Regions from separate parts of the Homo sapiens genome. Here region 2 is linked to region 1. The links are contacts of gene promoters, found by promoter capture Hi-C in blood cells and fetal thymus (Javierre and others, 2016). All regions are on one chromosome and are shown on one strand. The core of a region is centred on a gene start or on the middle of the fragment in contact, and the rest is flanking DNA. Distances in the headings are between cores, read along the strand shown.

The links. Contacts are between HindIII fragments. The CHiCAGO score rates a contact against its expected background, and 5 or more counts as called.
Region 2: a fragment that was not itself captured here is called in contact with the fragment with the promoter of METTL3 in region 1 in 1 of 17 cell types (monocytes); the score reaches 5.6 in monocytes.

The regions. Positions count from the first base shown.
Region 1 is chr14:21,509,879-21,512,887 of GRCh38, reverse strand. METTL3 (methyltransferase 3, N6-adenosine-methyltransferase complex catalytic subunit) reads left to right here and starts at 1,548. Exons shown (of 11, transcript NM_019852.5): 1 at 1,548-1,764. The coding sequence starts at 1,665. RefSeq lists an enhancer at 1,266-1,505. The HindIII fragment of the contact is 13,792 bases long and covers 1-3,009 here.
Region 2 is chr14:20,359,133-20,362,141 of GRCh38, reverse strand. No RefSeq gene overlaps it. Among named protein-coding and RNA genes, the nearest start is that of PARP2, 17 kb to the right of the region's middle. The HindIII fragment of the contact is 2,261 bases long and covers 425-2,685 here.

The sequences.
Region 1 (3,009 bases), core at 299-2,798:
GTAATACCTGCTACTAGGTAGGCTGAGGCAGCTAGAATCCAGGAGGTGGAGGTTGCAGTGAGCTGAGATCACACCACTGCACACCAGCCTGGGCAGTAAGAATGAAACTCTGTGTCAGGCCAGGCTCGGTGGCTCACGCCTGTAATCCCAGCACTTTGGGAGGCTGAGGCAGGGGGGCAGATCGTAGGGGCAGATCACGAGGTCAGGAGTTCGAGACCAGCCTGGCCAACATAGTGAAACCCTGTCTCTACTAAAAATAAAAAAAATTAGCCAGGTGTGGTGGCACGCGCCTGTAATCCCAGCTATTCGGGAGGCTGAGGCAGGAGAATCGCTTGAACCCAGGAGGCGGAGGTTGCAGTGAGCTGAGACCACGCCATTGCACTCCAGCCTGGGTGACAGAGTGAGTGAGACTCCATCTCAAAAAAAAAAAAAAAAGAAAATGTGTCAAAAAAAGAAAGAAAGAAAGGATTGTAGGAAAAACCACCACCACCAACCTTGTATTTAAGTTTACTACACATACAGAAAAGTGCACACCAAAATGTTCAGCTCAATTACATTTCACAAACTGAACACACTCATGCAGGTAGCTCTCATAACAAAAAACACAACGCAACCAGGACCTCAAAGCCCTCTTAGTGTCGGAACCCGATTTTAATAGATTACACGTACTTTGTAAATTTAGCCTAAGAGAGAGATCACGTATTTGAAGACCTCTCGGATTTTTCCTTCATCAGCCCTCCCCACTTCCCCACGCCTCGTCAACACAAAGAAGCATGCCCGCACCCACCACCGCCCCCTCCTCACCTCAGATTGGGGACCACCGTTGTGTTTTTTATTTTTTTGTAAATGAACGCATGGAAACAAACCAACACCACCTTCAGTGGAAAAGGTATGTTAGTACCAAACTGTCAAAAGGAACTAGTGATCCTTCATCTTAAAAATCTGTACTATGGCCGGGTGTGGTGGCTCACGCCTGTAATCCTAGCACTTTGGGAGGCCAAGGAGGGCGGATCACGAGGTGAGGAGTTCGAGACTGGCCTGGCCAACACAGTGAAACCCCGTCTCTACTAAAAATACAAAAAATCTGCCGGGCGTGGTGGCGGGCGCCTGTAATACCAGCTACTCGGGAGGCTGCGGCAGGATAATCACTTGAACCCGGGAGGTGGAGGTTGCTGTGAGCCGAGATCGCGCCATTGCACTCCAGCCAGGGCGACAGAGTGAAACTCCGTCTCAAAAAAAAAAAAAAGAAAAAAACCCCCAAAACTGTACTATATGGTGTTGCTCTCTACGAGTGCTACTTTAACACAAGTCAACTCTCAGGACTCCTCTCCGAATATTCAACATGGCCGCATGCGCGTCTATAAGCAACATGGCCGCTCTGCCAGTCACCAACATGGCAACCACAGCCTCACTGTGTCCGGAAGCATGAGAGAGCGGGTATGAGGACTATACCGGCCGCTCTGCCAACACCTAACGTGGCTCTTTATAGCTTCCAAGAAAGCGCGACACCGGAAATGACTTTTCTGTCTTGCTCAGCTCCAGGGGTCATTTTCCGGTTAGCCTTCGGGGTGTCCGCGTGAGAATTGGCTATATCCTGGAGCGAGTGCTGGGAGGTGCTAGTCCGCCGCGCCTTATTCGAGAGGTGTCAGGGCTGGGAGACTAGGATGTCGGACACGTGGAGCTCTATCCAGGCCCACAAGAAGCAGCTGGACTCTCTGCGGGAGAGGCTGCAGCGGAGGCGGAAGCAGGACTCGGGGCACTTGGGTGAGGCACTGGGCTGTTGGGGCCGAGGCTCAACCGGGGAGGACGGGCGGGATCCCTAGAGAAAAAGCTCCAGAGTCACTGCCCTTTACCAAACGGCCATTTCTATAAAGCCTCGTACATTGGTACTCCCTCTCCACCTTCAGCAGCAGACGTTCGCCCTTCTGCAAGTAGTTCGCGGTTCCTCCTCACGCTGGGCCTCGGTTCTTCCAGCTCACTTTTACCGGACGGACGCTTGAGCCCCACCCTCGTCCGCCTTGCCCACTCCTCTTCAGACTGCGAGGACGTCGCCTTTGTGAGGCTGCTCAGCCCCCTATCCCGCGAAGCAGCAAGAACCCCTTTTTGTTGCTGCTTTGGCGCTTTGTTCCCTCAGTTATAACGACTGTTTTGTAGTGGTCATTTCTTGGCAGCTGTGGGTACAGTAAGCGAGGAATGAACCTTTATATCCGCAGTGCCCAATTTAGTGGCCCGTACAGAGTGGCACTGGGTGTTTCTGAATGAGTACCCCTACCGGCATTGACTTAGCCATTTACATACCTAGCAGGAATCTGAAAACATTTGTGTTTGGTTTCCAAACTTTTTCTCTTCTCCTGTTGCCCCCGTGTCACGATCATAAAACTTGAAGGAAATTTAAAAGATTAAATTCACTGTTATCCACTCCCTACCCTCAGGACAAACTCTGAATTATTTAAGGCAAACTAGTAACAAAGCTCTGCAAAAATAGTGACTCAGTATCACCTTTGTGGTAGATTGTTCCAATATTTGTCAGTATCTTCAACTGCATCTCTAAATCTTGTCTAGATCATGTTAGGTTCATGTGCTCGTATTCTGGCCCCTAGAAATAGAAGATGCACTGGCAGGATCCTCCCACCTAATTAATTACCTTTCTTGAGTATCTACAGTGTTCATGGGTCTAATTAGACAAAAATAAGGAAGAAATTGCCCCTGTCCTCAAGAAGTTTAAAAAGCATAGGATTCAAGGGGAGACGCTTACAAAAAGTGAGGAATATGATAAGATATATGTACGAAACCAAATGAATGAATCTACAGTCTGTACAATGAAGAGAAGTAACAAGAGCTGGTGTAGGTAGTGAAGCCATCAAAACCATCATAGTGGAATTGGCACTTGAATTTGGCCTTTATGGCTATATAGGACCTAGATAATTAAAGAGGTAAGAGGGGAGGATAGTGGAGTAAGAAGTGCAAGTCATATGGTCAGGCAATAATTAGTAGTCAAGTCTCAGAGTA
Region 2 (3,009 bases), core at 306-2,805, 1.2 Mb after region 1:
GTTCATCCATGCAGTATCAGTACTTCATTCCATTTTATGACGGAATAATATTGCATTGGATGGATATACTTTTTATGTTTTTACAGCTTTATTGAGTTATGATTGGCATGCAATAAACCACACATATTTAAAATACACAATTCGATAAAGCTTGACATATATATATATTAATAAAATTATTACCACGGTCAAGATAGTTAACATATCTAACAGGAATAAACCACATTTTGTTTATCCATTTATTGGTTGATGGATGTTTGGAGTGTTTCTACTTCTTGGCTATTATAAATATTGTTGCTATCAATATGCATGTACAAATTTTTGTGTGAACATTGCTTTTTTATTCTCTTGGTTATACACCTAGTAGTGGAATTGCTAGGTCCTGATAACTCTTATGTTCAACTATTTGAGGAACTGCCAAGCTTTTCCAAAGCAGCTGCACCACTTTATATTCGCACTAGCAATGTGTGAGGATTTTTATTTGTCCATATCTTTGCCGAGATTTGTTAGTCTCAGGCCTTAGCCTCCTGAGTAGCTGGAATTACAGGCAAATGCCACCACGCCTGGCTAATTTTTCATATTTTTGCTAGAGATGGGGTTTCACCATGTTGGCCAGGCTGGTCTCAAACTCCTGACCTCAGATGATCTGCCTGCCTCTGGCTCCCAAAGTGCTGGAATTACAGGCGTGAGCCACCACACCCGGCCAAGAGTTTTAAATTTTGACGAAGACCAACTTATTTCTTTTGCTTGCTTGTGCATTGGTGTCATATTTAAGAAACTGTTGCTTAATCCAAGGTCACAGAGATTTCTCCTTATGCTCTAAGAGCTTTTTAGTTTTAGCTTACATTTAGGCCTTTGATCCATTTTAATTTTTACGTAGTGTGAGATAGTGTTCCTAATTTATTACTTTGCATGTGGATATCCAAGTCGTCCCAGCACCATTTGTTGAAAAGACTATTTTTCCCCCATTGAATGGTCTTGGCACCCTTGTTGAAAACCAATTGACCATATTTGCTTGGGTTTATATCCAGACTCTCAATTCTATCCCATTGATTTCTATGTCTATCCTATGTCATTATCACATTGTCTTGAGTACTGTAGCTTTTTCAAGATTGTTTTTGTTATTCATGATCTTTGTAATTCCTTATGAATTTTTCTTGGCCATTTCTGCAAAAAAAAAGGATAATGGAATTTTAATAGGAATTGTATGGAATCTATAGGTTGCTCTGGGAAGTATTACCATTTTAATAATAAATTTTCCAATCTACGAACACTTGTAGATTGAAAACTACAGAACTGTTGACAGAAATTCAAGACCTAAATAAATAGGTCTTAGCTGGGTATGGTGGCTCAAGTGTGTAATCCCAGCACTTTGGGAGACTGAGGTGGGCCTTGAGGTCAGGAGTTCAAGACCAGCCTGCCAACATGGTGAAACCCCATCTCTACTAAAAATACAAAAATTAGCTGGGTGTGGCGGTGCACACCTGTAATCCCAGCTACTTGGGAGGCTGAGGCCGGAAAATCACTTGAACCCGGGAGGCAGAGGTTGCATTAAGGGAAGATTGTGCCACTGCACTCCAGCCTGGGCAACAGAACAAGACTCTGTCTCAGATAAATAAATAAATAAATAAATAAAGGTGGCCTTGAATGTTTTTCAATAGTTTTGTAGTTATCAGTGTACAAGTTTCATGCTTCTTTGGTTAAATCTATTCCTAGTGTTTTATTCTTTCTGACGCTATTATAAATGGAATTGTTTTCTTAATTTTTCAGATTATTCTTTACTAGTGTGTAGAAATAGAAATACAATTCATAGGCCAGGCGTGGTGGCTCACACCTGTAATGCCAGCACTTTGGGAGGCCAAGGTGGGTGGATCACCTAAGGTCAGGAGTTCAAGACCAGCCTGGGCCCAACATGGTGAAACCCTGTCTCTACTAATAATACAAAAATTAGCCAGGCATGGTGGCACATGCCTGTAATCCCAGCTAGTTGGGAAGCCGAGGCGGGAGGCTGAAGCAGGAGAATCACTTGAACCCGGAGGCAGAGGTTGCAGTGAGCTGAGATCTCACCATTGCACTCCAGCCTGGGCAACAAGAGTAAAATGCCATCTCCAGAAAAATAAATAAAATAAAAAGAAATACAGGCTGGGTGTAGTGGCTCATGCCTGTAATCCCAGCACTTTGGGAGGCTGAGGTGGGAGGATCACAAGGTAAGGAGTTCGAGACCAGCCTGGCTAATATGGTGAAACCCTGTCTTTACTAAGAATACAAAAATTAGGCAGGCGTGGTGGTGGGCACCTGTAGCCCCAGCTCCTCGGGAGGCTGAGGCAGGAGAATCACTTGAGCCCGGGAGGTGGAGGTTGCAGTGAACCAAGATTGCGCCACTGCACTCCAGTCTGGGCAACAGAGCAAGACACTCCGTCTCAAAAAAAAAAAGAAAAAGAAAAAAAAAGAAATACAATTCATCTTGTATCCTACAATCTTGCTGAACTTTTTAGCTCTAAATATGGATTCTTTTGGGCCTTCTCTATAGATCACGTAATTTGCAAATTTAGTTTTATCTCCTTTTTAATCTTGATGCCTTTTTTTTCTTGCTTAAGTACCATGGTTAGAACCTCCAGTACAATATTGAATGGAAGTGGTGAGTGCAAACATCTTGGTCTTATTCCTGATCTTAGAGGATAAGCTTTCAATCTTTCACCATTGTAATGTTAGCTGTGAGTTTTTCATAGATGTTCTTCATAGGGTGGAGGAAGCTCCCTTTCATTCCTACTTTGTTGGATTTTATTTCATTATGAAAAAATGTTACATTTTGCCAAATGCTTTTTCTGCATCTGAGATGATCATGTGATTTTTGCCCTACCTTGGTTTTCAATCTTGCATTACTGTGATAAATCTCACTTGATCATTGTATATAGTCCATTTATAATGTTGCTGGATTAGGCTTGGTAGTATTTTGTTGATTTTTGCAATTATATTGTTAAGGGATATTGGTCTATAATTTTATTTTCT